Linked DNA regions of Homo sapiens: regions 1 and 2 are each linked to region 3. Evidence: promoter capture Hi-C in 16 types of primary human blood cells and fetal thymus (Javierre and others, 2016). All regions are on one chromosome and are shown on one strand. The core of a region is centred on a gene start or on the middle of the fragment in contact, and the rest is flanking DNA. Distances in the headings are between cores, read along the strand shown. Region 1 overlaps LINC00607 (long intergenic non-protein coding RNA 607). Region 2 overlaps LINC00607 (long intergenic non-protein coding RNA 607). Region 3 holds the start of FN1 (fibronectin 1).

Evidence for each region. The method cuts DNA at HindIII sites, captures the fragments that hold promoters and counts their contacts. A CHiCAGO score of 5 or more calls a contact.
Region 1: a contact is called between a fragment that was not itself captured here and the fragment with the promoter of FN1 in region 3, in 3 of 17 cell types (endothelial precursors, M1 macrophages and M2 macrophages). The highest score is 8.7, in endothelial precursors.
Region 2: a fragment that was not itself captured here is called in contact with the fragment with the promoter of FN1 in region 3 in 2 of 17 cell types (endothelial precursors and M1 macrophages); the score reaches 6.4 in endothelial precursors.

What each region holds. Positions count from the first base shown.
Region 1 is chr2:215,720,124-215,724,668 of GRCh38, forward strand. The region is part of intron 5 of LINC00607 (long intergenic non-protein coding RNA 607); the gene reads right to left. LINC01614 (long intergenic non-protein coding RNA 1614) reads left to right here. Exons shown (of 2, transcript NR_132383.1): 2 at 1-823. Among named protein-coding and RNA genes, the nearest start is that of LINC01614, 4.4 kb to the left of the region's middle. The HindIII fragment of the contact is 5,386 bases long and covers 1-4,421 here.
Region 2 is chr2:215,737,256-215,741,782 of GRCh38, forward strand. It overlaps LINC00607 (long intergenic non-protein coding RNA 607), which reads right to left. Exons shown (of 10, transcript NR_037195.1): 5 at 3,622-3,766. Among named protein-coding and RNA genes, the nearest start is that of LINC01614, 21 kb to the left of the region's middle. The HindIII fragment of the contact is 5,311 bases long and covers 1-4,527 here.
Region 3 is chr2:215,434,481-215,439,309 of GRCh38, forward strand. FN1 (fibronectin 1) reads right to left here and starts at 1,588. Exons shown (of 46, transcript NM_212482.4): 1 at 1,175-1,588; 2 at 216-344. The coding sequence starts at 1,322. It overlaps FN1-DT (FN1 divergent transcript), which reads left to right and starts at 1,211. Exons shown (of 2, transcript NR_187198.1): 1 at 1,211-1,829; 2 at 2,439-4,465. RefSeq lists an enhancer at 1-99 and silencers at 1,612-1,671, 1,682-1,771. The HindIII fragment of the contact is 4,490 bases long and covers 1-3,514 here.

The sequences.
Region 1 (4,545 bases), core at 479-2,978, 290 kb after region 3:
GACTGAAATAGGAGAACCACGTCCAGGGGTTCAGGGGGGATTCCTCTGAAATCGCAGCTGGAAGCATTTCGTAATAGTTCTGGTACTGCACCCATAGATACTGTCACCTCTACTCTTTCTTCCAATCACCATTAGCAGATGCCACAGGATTCCTACTTCTGAAAGTTTTTGGGCCCTGCAGGTGGAAGACTGGAGAAGCCAATAAAGTTTAAGGCTACATTTTATTCCATCCACAAATTTGGTGAAGGAGGAAATGTTTACAATTCTGCCATGCCATGAATAGGAGTTTTCCACCGGGTGTACACTGCTGTTAACAAGGTGTAAATACTTGTCCAGTAAAGAGACCGTACGGTACTGCTGATGGACGTCCCAACACAATGCCAGATGCAAAAACTTCTTTGGTGATTGCTTTTGATAACACTGAGTGGCTAAAGGTCTTCTTTCACATCTTTGCCCACCTCAAATCCTGAAGGCAAGGTCTCTGGAATTTGAGGCTGTGCCCTCACATGCCTCCAAGGCACCAACAAAGCAAAATGAAGAGTCTGCACTGCTTATCAGTTGACCCAACACTCAGTCCACATTGGAGGGGAAGGGGTGGTGGGCTGAGGATGTCTTCTTCCTGTCCAGGATGCAATATGGTCAAGGATGAAAGGAAAGAGATGCTGGGAGCAAGTCTGCATTGAAGATGTATTTCTGTTGCTTTACTACCAACCCTGGTTATAAATGATGAAACTATAATGGGTCTGTAATAGCTACTTTCCCATATAGCTCTTGTCTGTACATACATAAAATTAAAAATAATAGAATACTTCCATTACTAACATGTGGTGACAAGCATTCTTCATTTACCATTTTTATTCCAAAAACATGATTTAACATTTTAAAAACCAAGATCTGTTCGGTAAATCAGATAATAGGGTAAACTATAGTTTACCCTATCTTACAGCCAGTTAGATAAATGATTATTGTGAAAAGAAAATTGTTAGCATTGTAAATAATGCTTCTTATATGAATACTAAACAGTCTATTGGAAAACACCATGGTTGTTGGTTTAGAATCAGCTTCTTTGGCTGGGCACCGTGGCTCACATCTGTAATCCCAACACTTTGAGAGGACAAAGCGGGTGGATCACCTGAGGTCAGGAGTTCGAGACCAGCCTGACCAACATGGTGAAACCCTGTCTCTACTAAAAATACAAAATTAGCCACGCGTGGTGGCACATGCCTCTAATCCCAGCTACTCGGGAGGCTGAGGCAGGAGAATTGCTTGAACCTGGGAGGCAGAGGTTGCAGATCACACCATTGCACTCCAGCCTGGGCAACAAGAGTGGGCATTTTTAGGTTGGTTCCAAGTCTTTGCTATTGTGTGTGTGTGTGTGTGTGTGTATATATATATAGATCATCATATATATATATATATAGATCATATATATATATAGATCATATATATATGATCTATATATATACACACACACACACACACACACACAATAGCAAAGACTTGGAACCAACCTAAAAATGCCCATCAATGATAGATTGGATAAAGAAAATGTGGCACATACAGACCATGGAATACTATGCAGCCATAAAAAAGAATGAGTTCATGTCCTTTGCAGGGACATGGATGAAGCCAGAAGCTATCATTCTTAGCAAACTAACACAGGAACAGAAAAGCAAACACTGCATGTTCTCACTCATAAGTGGGAGTTGAACAATGAGAACACATGGAAACATGGAGAGGAACATCACACAATGGGGCCTGTCAGGGAGTCGGGGGAGGGAGAGCATCAGGGCAAATATCTAATGCATGCAGGGCTTAAAACCTAGATGACGGGTTGATAGGTGCAGCAAATGACATGGCACATGTGTACCTATGTAACAAACCTGCATGTTCCGCACATGTATCCCAGAACTTAAAGTAAAATAAAAATGTTTTAAAATAAAAATTAAAAAATAATAGAATCAGCTTTTTCAAATCCATAATATTTGGATTTTATTTTTGCCTGAAACTTTCTTAGTCAATAATAATTCAGTTTTTACCATGCTTTAAAAGGGACTCCATTACAAACTCTCTTAGAGTCTTCCTTATGCCTTACATGGCATAGTGAGTCAGTGATTTTTTTTTTCTTCCATGGCGTTAGAGAAGAGGCTAAGGGAAAGTATCTGTAACTTTTCACGGCAGCATCTTTAACCTTCTGCTAAATCCTGGGCTGCCAGCTGGCAAGGCCTAGTACTCTTCAGTCCTGCAAAGAATCACGTATGTGTCACTGAAGGTAGACTTAAGTTCTTCTGTTTTAACCTGAATCATCTGCAGAAGCAAACAGCAAAGTGCATCACCCCTGTTAAAGCGGCTGGCAGTACGAGCCACAAGGTAAAAATTATGAAGAAGTGTCCCTCTTTGTCCCTTCACCGAGAACATAGCGTCCAATGCTGTTTCCAAAGCTCCTTAGCCACCTCCACTTCTGTCCCCTTTCAAAGGATCTTCCAAACCACCCCCAACCCAGGTCTGGATTTAGATCTGCTCTTTCTGTACAGCAGCTCATGTTCCAAACCAGTAATTCATAGATATGATTCATTTGATTACAACCTTCACTATTTTTACCCATAATACTTCTACTGTTATTTCCTAATATAATACCTTAATATCACTACTATAATTAAAATTCTAATATAACTTTTCATAATTAAAAGGTAACCATACAAATAAACTGAATAAAAAATAATGCCATTAAAATTTAAGCGGATACTATTGCCTGCTAAAAGCTCTGAGCCTAAGGCCTGTTTCTGTTTTTTTTAAAAGGGTGGTTAATATGTGCTACGTTAAAGATGCACTCACATCAAATTGAGACTTCTCTTAATCTATTCAGAAGGACTGAAAGAGAAGGCAAAAGAAAATCTCTCATCTTGTGTGATTCCATTTTAGTTAACACCACATTGGTTTTATTAAACCCCACTCAAGATCATCTTAGATTTAGAATCATCTTGTGAGTCCTAGTTTATGGGAAACAAGATAAGCCAGCATTTCTCAAAATGTGGGTTTTGGACAGTCTGCAAGAGATAACCTAGCACCAGATTAACATGCAAATCCCCTGGCTTCTGAGACTTCTGAGATAGGTCTTAGGAAATCTGTATTTTTAACACATTTCTCAGGTATTACTTATACACACAAATATTTGAAAACCATGAGTCCAGATTTGTCGTTTTCAAACATTAGCCAAGGGATCCTTTCTTCCAATAAAATCCTTCACAGAAACTAAGATAAAAAGCAGGTAAGAATAGAGTCCTCTAGTTGAATCAGGAAGGTGGGGCAGAGAGCAGAGTTGTGATTTCACCTTCTCATGACCCTTCTCATGGCATACGGACATTTCTCATGGTAAAATAAAATAGTTAATTAACATACTAGAAAATATTCAGCCTCATAATAATCAAATGCAAACAAAATAAAAGATAAGATCTTATTTTTTTACTCATAAATTAGCAAAGGTATTTTGAATGATAGTGTAAATAAGGACTAACTAGAATGTTATAACCAATATTCTTATATGCAGAAAAGCAAATGAGTACCACCTTTCTGGATGTACTTTAAAATATTTATGTTTTCTTTTAATGCAATACTCTACTCTCTATGAATTTATTATGCAGAAATGGTGTGAAATTCAGGCAGATTTATGCACAGTTCCGGAACTAGACAGTGGTGATAGTTGCATAACACTGTGAATATACTTAATGCCATGGAATTGAATGGCTTCAAATGGTTACAATGCTAAATTTTATGTTGCATATTTTACCACAGTATACACAAAGAATTATGCAAAAATATGCATTTCATTATTATTTATGATAAGAATTTAAAACTGGCAGGGCGCGATGGCTCAGGCCTGTAATCCCAGCACTTTGGGAGGCCAAGGCGGGTGGATCACCTGAGGTTGGGAGATCGAGACCAACCTGACCAACATGAAGAAACCCCATCTCTATTAAAAATACAAAACGAGCCAGACGTGGTGGTGCGTGCCTGTAATCCAAGCCACTCGGGGAGGCTGAGACAGGAGAATCGCTTGAACCCGGGATGCAGAGGTTGCGATGAGCCGAGATTGTGCCATTGCACTCCAGCCTGGGCAACAAGAGCAAAACTCTGTCTCCAAAAAACAAAAACAAACAAACAAAAAAGAATTTAAAACTGCTGAATACCCAACATTAGTCATTGCCACATTATGGTGTTTTTGGAAAATTCTTGTGATATATATACACTTACTTATGTGAAAAAAAAAAAAACAGGATGTGAAACTATATCCACAATATTACCTCAGCCATTTCTTTAAAAATAGAATAATCTAGATAGAAATATGTCAAATATTACCTGTAATGGAGCCTAGAAGAGTAGTAGAATTATTAACACCTCTTCCTTTCTCTTCTACTTTGAGAAGCTTTCCAAAATTTGCTAAAATTAGCACTTTCTTAAAACATGAGATTTTTGTGTGTGTGATTTTTAAATTTTAGCTTATTAGCTATCATTAGTGTTAGTGTATTTTATGTGTGGCCCAAGACA
Region 2 (4,527 bases), core at 626-3,125, 300 kb after region 3:
TCAAACTTGAGTAATGTATACCCTGTTTTTGGAGGAAAAATATTCTTCTGAGCCCCTAATGTTGATGAATTACTTTCATTAGAATGTTACTTTAAAAATATATACAAATGTAAAACTAGATATAAACTCATTATGCTAAACAACTGTAATACCAAAACAAATTTACAAATTAGAAACAAAACTACCAAACCAATACAGTTCAAATTAACAAGATTAATTTAATGTGACAATTAGTATTGTTTTGCTAAAATTGTATTGCAGTTAGAAACGATTGGCTTCCTGTTAGGTTCAGGCAATTGTAAGCACTTAGAGACGTATTGGAGGGCTGGGGAAAGGAAAAGTCAGGATATTTGCTCCCTCCCTTTTCTGGTTCTAGTCTAGCAAAGAAGCTCCTCCCTCCCTGATCCCACCTGGCTCCGGAAGGCAGCTTTTGCCATGGTTACTGACTGCATCCAGAAGCCCTGGTTTCCTGCCTCTGCTCATACTATCTCCTCCCCAGATGCCTCCTGGTACTGATCTGCTGCTGCCACTAACCTCTCTTTTGCCCCTCCATTCCCTGTTTGATTTCTTCCTCTCTTCCAATACCATTGTGATATGGTTTGGATTTGTGTCCCTGACCAAATTTCATGTCGAATTATAATCCCCAGTGTTGGAGGAGGGGCCTGGTGGGAGGTGTTTAGATCATGGGCGGGGGGGGGGGGCAGGGGGGATTTCCCCCTTGCTGTTCTCATGATAGTGAGTGAGTTCTCATGAGATCTAGTTGTTTAAAGGTGTGCAACACCTCTCCCTGCTCTCTCTTCCTCCTGCTCCAGGCATGTAGGACGTGCCAGCTTCCCCTTTGCCTTCCGCCATGGTTGTAAGTTTCCTGAGGCCTCTCCAGTCATGTTATCTCTACAGCCTGCAGAACCATGAGCCAATCAAACCTCTTTTCTTTACAAATTACCCAGTCGCAGGTAATTCTTTATAGCAATGCAAGAACAGACTAATACGCATTGTTTTTTACTAGTTTCCAATAATAAATTCCCTTTATTAAACCACTATTCTTATCATACTCTTTTCCTGACTGACCCCACAGATACACAGGTTATATGTAAGAGTGGAAAGAGATGGAGAGCAATCAGATTTCTTCCTTCATCCATGTGTATTTATGCCAATTGTTGTACTTTTAACTTCCCTCTTTTTTACACTTCAAAGTGCCAAGAATAAACCAAAAAGAGGAATCTCCCCAAAAGTGTATACATTTGTTTTATGTAGAAACCATTTTTGTTCCCTAAATTTCCTGTGGCTCCATATGTCATCAGAAGGGATTCAACAGGAAAGCATCTGTATCACAAAGGGGAAGCACACCCAAACAATGGATGAGTTCTGTCTGCAGATTCCAATTTGAGAAGTATGGCTGAGCAACCTTAGATATATCATCCCCAAAGCAACTAATAACTTAAAAGGGAAATCCGAATATTCATTTCCCTTGAAAAAATGGTGAACGAATTGAGGTAACCAATTCTTTTTTTTTTTTCTTCCTAGAGTTCTTTTAACATTACACGATTTTTCAACATTTTTCTTTACTGAGTTGCACCACCAGATAGACAAGGAAGAAGTTAATGTCCACACTTGAATATGAAAAAGGGAGAGAGGAATTTTAAATCAGGAAGTATGTCTTTAAAGGAACAGCATGAGAGTAAATAATTTATGATAGAACGACCAATATTTCTTCTATCAAATGCCAAGTTTCTTACTTTCTCTAATGGTAGCTTTTACGTTATATAGGTACCAGCTCCTACTTTTATCAGTTCTCAAGGCCATGAATATTTAATGGGTTGGGAAAAGTATGGCTCCTCCTAAGAGTCTGAGAGAAAGAGAGCCAGCATGTTTAATGTTTATTACAGAAATTAACTGACGGCAGGACATTCCTTGCAGGTCTTCAAACCAGCAAAACATGGGAGGTTAAGTTGATGCCAGGCTCCACTCCAGACAATTAAGACAGGAATCTCTGGTGGAAATCTCTGGGGGTGGGTTTCAGGCATTAGAATTTTTAAAAATTTTCCCACGTTATTCTAACGAAGCCACTAGCCTCAGCCAAGCATTAAAACTTACCTTGGATACTACCTTTTTATTGGATTCCATTTTTTTCCTCATAAGAGTTTGTCCATTTCTCCCCCTCATTCTTTATTATTTTGAATGACATTGACATAAGTGATACTAGAGCTATAATCAACTTGAGATTTTGTTTTACCTGCCACTTGATAAAAGAAAACAGACAAGGAAAAATACGAGTCCTTTTAGGGGTAGGGGGTGGTGATTATAGTGATGCCTGCCAGAATCCTCAGATAGCTGAACTGTGTGACTTTCACCTCAAAAGTCACTATCAAGGGACCGTGTATCAAATCCACTGTCCATTGGTCATTCATTTTGTGTAGTCCTTTTTCTCAATATCTTCAGGCTGTTAGCACATGGTATCAGACACAACCTGTCAATCCTCATCACATTAGAAATGTCCCAGTTCACAGTTCTCCAGAGCCCATGGCTCTTATAGGGTTGAAATCTCAGCACTCATTATAGCAACACCACATTGTATGTATATATCTCCCAAGACAAACACCTCACAAAGAATAAACAATGGCTTAGCCTGGGGATCCCCTAAACATGCTTGATAGTACACCTAATAGAAGTTTAAATAAGGGTTTAACATTTTCCCCATGATCCAATGGATCATCTTGCACCTCCCCTGAGGTGCTCACACCTCACTCCAGAGACCACTGAGCCAGTCTACTGGATAATGCTGCCTGACAAACAATTATTACTGTTGTGCTTTGAGTTGTCCCTGAATCTAAATATTAGAGCAGAAATTGTAAATGAGAGTCGTTCAACAATGCAAACAAGGTAAACAGAAAATTCTTCATCATCACCCATGAGTTACTTGATGAAAAATTCGAACGGAATTTTGTGTTAGTACCAAACGTTTCCTGTTACCATCAGGGCTAGGACTCTAGGACTTCCCAGGCTCCAGTCTGATCCTCTGAACAATTTTACTCAAATCACTTTTTGAACTGTTTATAGCTATTTTCATCATTGTTTCAGTGGTCACTCTAAACCAAAAAACGACCTCTAGGTTTTCTTGCTCAAGTGCTACATTCTTCAAAAGAACGCACTAGTAAAGTTCTGGCCATAATTTCAAAGCAGATTTTCTCTCTACAATAAATAGGTGTGCTTAAAATATAAAATGTTCTCAGTGAGGCATCCTTTATGAAAAAATGCAGTATAGCAGGACTTAGGCAAGTGAATTGATTCTGAAAAACTAAAAAGAGGCACAGGAAAATTTCATCAAGGTCACTGAAAGGGGGGAAATGAGCTGAAATGAGCAAGTACAGAGATTTGAGTCATGACAATTAAATAATCACAGAGTTTGATCCTGGTTTTGCAGCGGAGGAAACTAATCTGCCCAAGGTCATGCTCTAGTTTAATGGCAGAACGGAAAACATCCGCAGACTCCTAGCTCCCTGTCCCTTCTTTTGGTCTATAGTATAATTACTTCCTTAATTACTTATCTTCCATTCTCTTTTCTATCAGCCTTAGATAAGAAAGCCAAGACATTTCTTTGGTTGCCTTGTAAATCATCCTTACTTCACAAAGACTCATGCCTCCCCCTTGGGTGTTTCTTTTTCCTGTGGTCTTCCCATAGGAGAAGGCTCTGTATTCCCAACTGCAGGGTTCCTGTCTGCCTCGTTGGAGAGTCCTTTCATCACTGCAGTGCGTGGGCTGCCTGTCTCTAAAAATAAGATTCCATTTATTTGTTTGGTACAGGGAAAATCAATTATGGTACAGTTCTCACTGTGGAGATATTCTCAGACAATATTTTAACTGACTCCCAAGTTCTATTTTAAAAGCATCATAACCACACAAGCACAGAATTCTGGAGATTAATAAGTCTGCAGAGTTCATCCAATGTGGTTCCTTACCATTTGGGGATCATAAAACCCTTTGAAAAATATGATGACAGCTACAGAAACTCTCCCCAGAAAAAAAATATACATACAAAGATATATATGAAGACATATATACAAAATTCATACAAAAACATGCAATGTTGTTCACTGGCCAGGAGGCTAGTCCCTGGATCCCTGGGTTAAATAGCCCTTTGTTGACTGAGAAGGAACCTAAATCCCTACGAGGAAAATTAATTTACTGAGCACAGAGCTAGTTAGTGGAAGAAATAGTACTAGAACACAGGTCTCTTCTTCCCAGTCCAGAGGTACACTATAGGATGACAAAGGTGACCATGTCATTTATCATCTAAACCAGGACACTTTAGAAAATGAAAAGGTGGGCTATTGACAATTAAGACAACAGGTGTAAACTGAAACCCTTTGGGGCAAATCAGGACATACGGTCACTTCAGTCACACTAAAAACAGATAACCTCTTAGACCTGACACTTCTTTGTGCCAGAAAGCCAAAACCTCCCGAGAAAAAAATAAAATGTGAACTTGCAATACAACCTCTGAGTTTTATTCTACGTTGCTTTAAAGAG
Region 3 (4,829 bases), core at 338-2,837:
AAGACTCTAGGAACTAATTTGGGAAAGATTCGTTTCTTTGTTTTAAAGGTAAAAGCATGTGAAAAGCAAATATAAGCAGTTTTTAAACTTAAGAGGAAATGACAGGTAATTCTATTAGAAAAATGGTGTATGTATTTTTACTTACTAATGCAAAGTTTAACAATTACCACTTCATGTATTAAAAGATACTAACTATGGGGCTTGTTGTCACTTACCTTCAGGTTTACTCTCGCAGTTAAAACCTCGGCTTCCTCCATAACAAGTACAAACCAACGCATTGCCTAGGTAGGTCCGCTCCCACTGTTGATTTATCTGATAGTGTTTTCCATTGTCATAACAACCGGCTGCAAATAATTGAAGGAAAACGTTACATTTGCATTTCTCCTTTTCCCAAAATTATGGAATTTTCTTCATGTGAATATTGACGTACATATTTTTTTCCTTTTAACTTTGCTAAAAGTTATATACAATGATGTCATTTCCATCTGGCCAGGGGTCTACATAAAAAAGTTGGAAACATTTTGGAAGGCAGACAATTGAAGTCACATTTTTAAAACATGCAAGGAACTTAAATATTCTTTTGGAGTAATAGTCAAAAAGGACAACTTTAAGCAGCTTTCTCAAAGCAAAAGGAGGGTGTGTCTTTGAAAAACGGAAAGAATTCCAACCTCTGTTCTTGGTGAAGTATCCTGAGCGGCCCTAAAGAGGTCTGAACCAATTACATCTCTTCCAAGTTAGTTAGAAACAAGACAGCTATTTCAATACCCCCTTTCCACCCCCATGTTGAAAATATTTGACCAATTATTTAACAGAAGGAAATAAGTAGCAGTAAGGACCACACTAATCCCAGACGGAAAATTTATAGACATGCATCATTTTTCTCTTTAAAGGCAAGTTTTGGTTAATTCCTAGAAGGACAATCTGAACGTGCAGAATTTATTAGAACACGGGAAAGTCGCAGAGTCCTCGTCCTCCAATGCACGGTCTTATCATCCCAGGCCCTCAGAACCAGCGTGCTCAAAACTCGGTCCTTTTGTGTGCACAGCTGGTTTCTCTCAGTAAAGCGCGCACACACTCGCACACACGCGCGCGCACAAAACTTCAGCCCCAACTTTGGTCGGCTTTAGGGTCCCATCCCTGAGGCAGCCTGTTTCAGCCCGCGGTCAGTACTCACGCTTGCTTTGACTGACAGCCACCGGGGACTGGGGCTGAACCATTTGCTGAGCCTGCCTCTTGCTCTTCGAGGCTCCCGTGGAGGGCACCGCTGTCCCCAGGCACTGGACGGCCAGCAGCAGCAGCCCGGGCCCCGGACCCCTAAGCATGTTGAGACGGTGGGGGAGAGACGCCCGCACCGGGAGGCAAGTTGCCACCAAGTTTGCTTCCCTTCGCAACCTGCGGGAAAAATCCCTTCTAATGCCTCCCGGGGGTTGTCGCCTCCAAGAAGGTGGGGGCCAGAGGGTGGGGAAGGGGACGGGTGGAGGGACAGAAGGGATGCAGAGGACCAGAGAAGTTGTGGCTGCAGGTCCCCTCTTCCCGCTCGCGCCTGGGGTTCCCTCTCCTCCCCCTGTGCAGCACAGCCGGCGCGGGCGTCCGAGCGCCGGGAGCCGGGGCTTATATGGGACGGTCCCCTCCCGCCCCTCTGGAGGCCCGGGGCGCGGGGGAGGAGAGACCCGCCGGGCTGTCCCCGCCCCGCCCCACCCCACCCGCCCGCCCGCCCGCCGGCCGCCGCAGCCGACCGCGCGCCGATTGGCCCGGGCTCCGGGTGACGTCACGGGGGACTGTGGGTTCGCAGCGAACAAAAGAGATGCTGATGGCCCGCCAGGACTGGGGCAAGACAACTTTTTTTCGGTTTCCTTTGCGGTCATCAAACTTTTTAGGGGATGGGGGAAGGGATGGGAAGCGGCTGGGAGGAAAGGGAGTGGCTGGACTTGTGTGAAGCGAAGGGGTTGCAAGACGCTCCCCCTTCCCTTTTCTTTTTTATTGGGGGTGGTGGTAGTGTTTGAGGACATTGCGTCACCTCTCTTCGGGGTGGAGGGGGGGAATCTCTGCTTATAGGAGTGTATTTTGTGAGGAAGAAAACCCATAAAATATCCACGACCTTGCAGCTGTTAAGAATCCAGACTTTTCAGTCCCAGGGCGGGGCTGCCTTTCCCCCCATCCCGCTCCCTTTCTTTGGACTAAAGGGTACTGACTCGGGACTCCCTTATTTTGTCTTCACAGCTCCCTGTTCGGACTTCTTCCCTTCTCAGCGCTGTGCCTGTCTGGCTCTGAGAAAGGGCCAGCGGGCGAACGGGGAGCAAAGGGGAACAGAGACCTTTAATGAGCTTCTACTAAGTACCGGGAGTTCCGCGGGGCGCTTTGCAGATCCCGGGGAAGTTCAGAGAATGAAGTTTTCTTTTGCAAGGACAAAGTAACAGTTTACTTTTTTACACATGCAGGAAAGCCTTCCTTTCCTGGGGATGGGACGCCCGTTTCCACTGAAAGTGAAATCACTGTGAACAACCTGAAAATTGGAAAGTTGGACCAGCTGTGGGGAGAGAAAGGTCTTCGTGTCCTTTCCCACGTTCACCGTGCCAGTTACACACAAAGCAGAGATTTTTTTGCTTGAATCATTAAAAGCCGGGTGGGTGGGGGGCACCCTATGTACTGTCTTGCCCTCCTTCGGCCCCTTTCTCACATTTATTTGCCATTTTCTTTTTGCTGACAAGTTCCATTACAGAATGCCCCCTCCATCCCCCGCCGCCAGATTTTTTATATTTCAATTGTTATTTACTCCAAGAGTGTGGAAAGTTCTCCTTTAAGATTCCCCCGCCTTGAACTCTAAACTCAGAGTGGAAAGGGAATCTGAAAAGTCTCTCATTTAGCAACACATCACATCAGTCCTTTTTGTCAGATAAACACAGGCACAATTGCTTTTAAAGATCTTCAGAAGGAGGAGTCCACCACTTCCACAGTAGATCCAGAGAGACCCGAACTGAATGCTTTGCCTTCTCCTTGTGTTAGGAGTTCAGAGGTTCCATTTGCTTTAAAACACAAGAAGCTACTAATAAAATATATTTATTTCGGCAAGGTACCTATTTTCTCCAAAAGTTTCACCTTCAGTAATTGCCACAGGAGTAATTAGAACTCTGTGTTCTATAAAATGCCTGACACATTAAAGACACAAAATTAGCATTTGTTTTTATTCATGCAAGGATTTAAAACCAAACCAAAACAAAGCAAAACACCCAGCAAATATCAGTTTCCTACAAATAGTGTAAAAAAACCTCTTGAGGAATCTTTGTGACCCACACTCCAAATTGAAAGAGTGCCATGGATTTCCCCAAATTTAGAATCCTGTCTGGGTTAGAGGATTTTTTTGGAATTTCTCATCACTTGACAAAACAGTTTTCTCTTTTCAAATATAAAAGAGCTCCTTGTAAAATGCTTGGTAAATTTCTGGGAAGCCGAGTGTTTCTTCCAGAGGGAAGGATACCTGGAAATCCGGATGTAAGCAAGATAAACCTGTAGCTAAAGCTTTCTTAAAATTCATTGATTCTGGGGGAAGGAAATAAGTGATTAGAAAAGTATTTGGTCAACCAAAACCATGATAGTTTGATATATTTACTGCACTGAAAATACACTAGAATCATATGCATAGTGGAGCTTGAAGTGGAAAGCCCACCTTACATTTTGGAAGAAACTTTTATATTTCAATCCCATAGATATCTAATTTATTTAAGGAAACAGGATATCTCTGTCTCATAAGAAAAAAAATAACATCTGACTGATTTTTATAGGAATGCTTGGGAGTTTACTCTTTTACTTGAAAGGTTTTTTTTTTTTTTGCCTTTTTTTTTAAACTTTAGAAACAGAGGCGTTTCTTAGTTAAGATAACAGGGCTTACTACAGTATTCTTTAATTATCAAGGTCCCTTGTAACTCTAAGTCTGTTATCTCTAATTGGAGAGATAATTAAATCTTAAAGACCACTCTGACTCTAATTCAACCAACGTGTGTGGTGTCCAGGATCGTTGGACTTCCTTAAGAATTCTATTTTATCCAGGTGGGTTCTTCCTCAGTAAATTGTATTCTCCTATTGGTAGGAAATACTCTTGGATTTCTTTCTTTCTTTCTTTTTCTTTCTTTCTTTCTTTCTTTCTTTCTTTCTTTCTTTCTTTCTTTTTCCTTCTTTCCTTCTTTCTTTCTAAAACTGTATTCAGAGAGAGAAATGTGACAAAAAAAGGGAAATCAATAGAGACAGAAAGTAGATTCATGGGTACCCAAGTTTATGGGCTGGGAACAGGAATTAACTGTAAAAGGGCACAGGGAATCTTATTGAGGTGATGGAAATCTGTGTTCTAAAACTACATTGCAGTGATGACTGTACAATTTGGTAAAAGCTTCAAAATTCTGGGGATTATACACAAAATGAGTGAATTTTACGGTATGTAAATTATGCTTCAATAAAGTTGTTTTTTTCAAAAGTTGATTTTAAAAATTAGTATTTGTTCTTTTTTACTCTTAACCATCTCCTGATTTTGGTTTCAAAGACTTGCTCTCAGGTAGCAGCAACATACACAAGGCGTCCTCATTTCTTCATTTTTCTGAGAGGAAGTTTGCCTTGAATATAGTAGTGGATTTCTTCTACACCAGTAACTCCTTCTGAAACCTACTATTTGTGTGAAGGCATATATGTGGTAGAGACAGAACAAATCTTCATTTAGGACTGTGCCTTGTTTCTTCTTGGAATTGCCATAGTGATAGAATTTTCCCAGAGCCTCAGGCAATTTAAACTTTTTGTAACAAAAAGAAGCACATATATTTTCGGGAACTAGGGGGGTGTGGGTG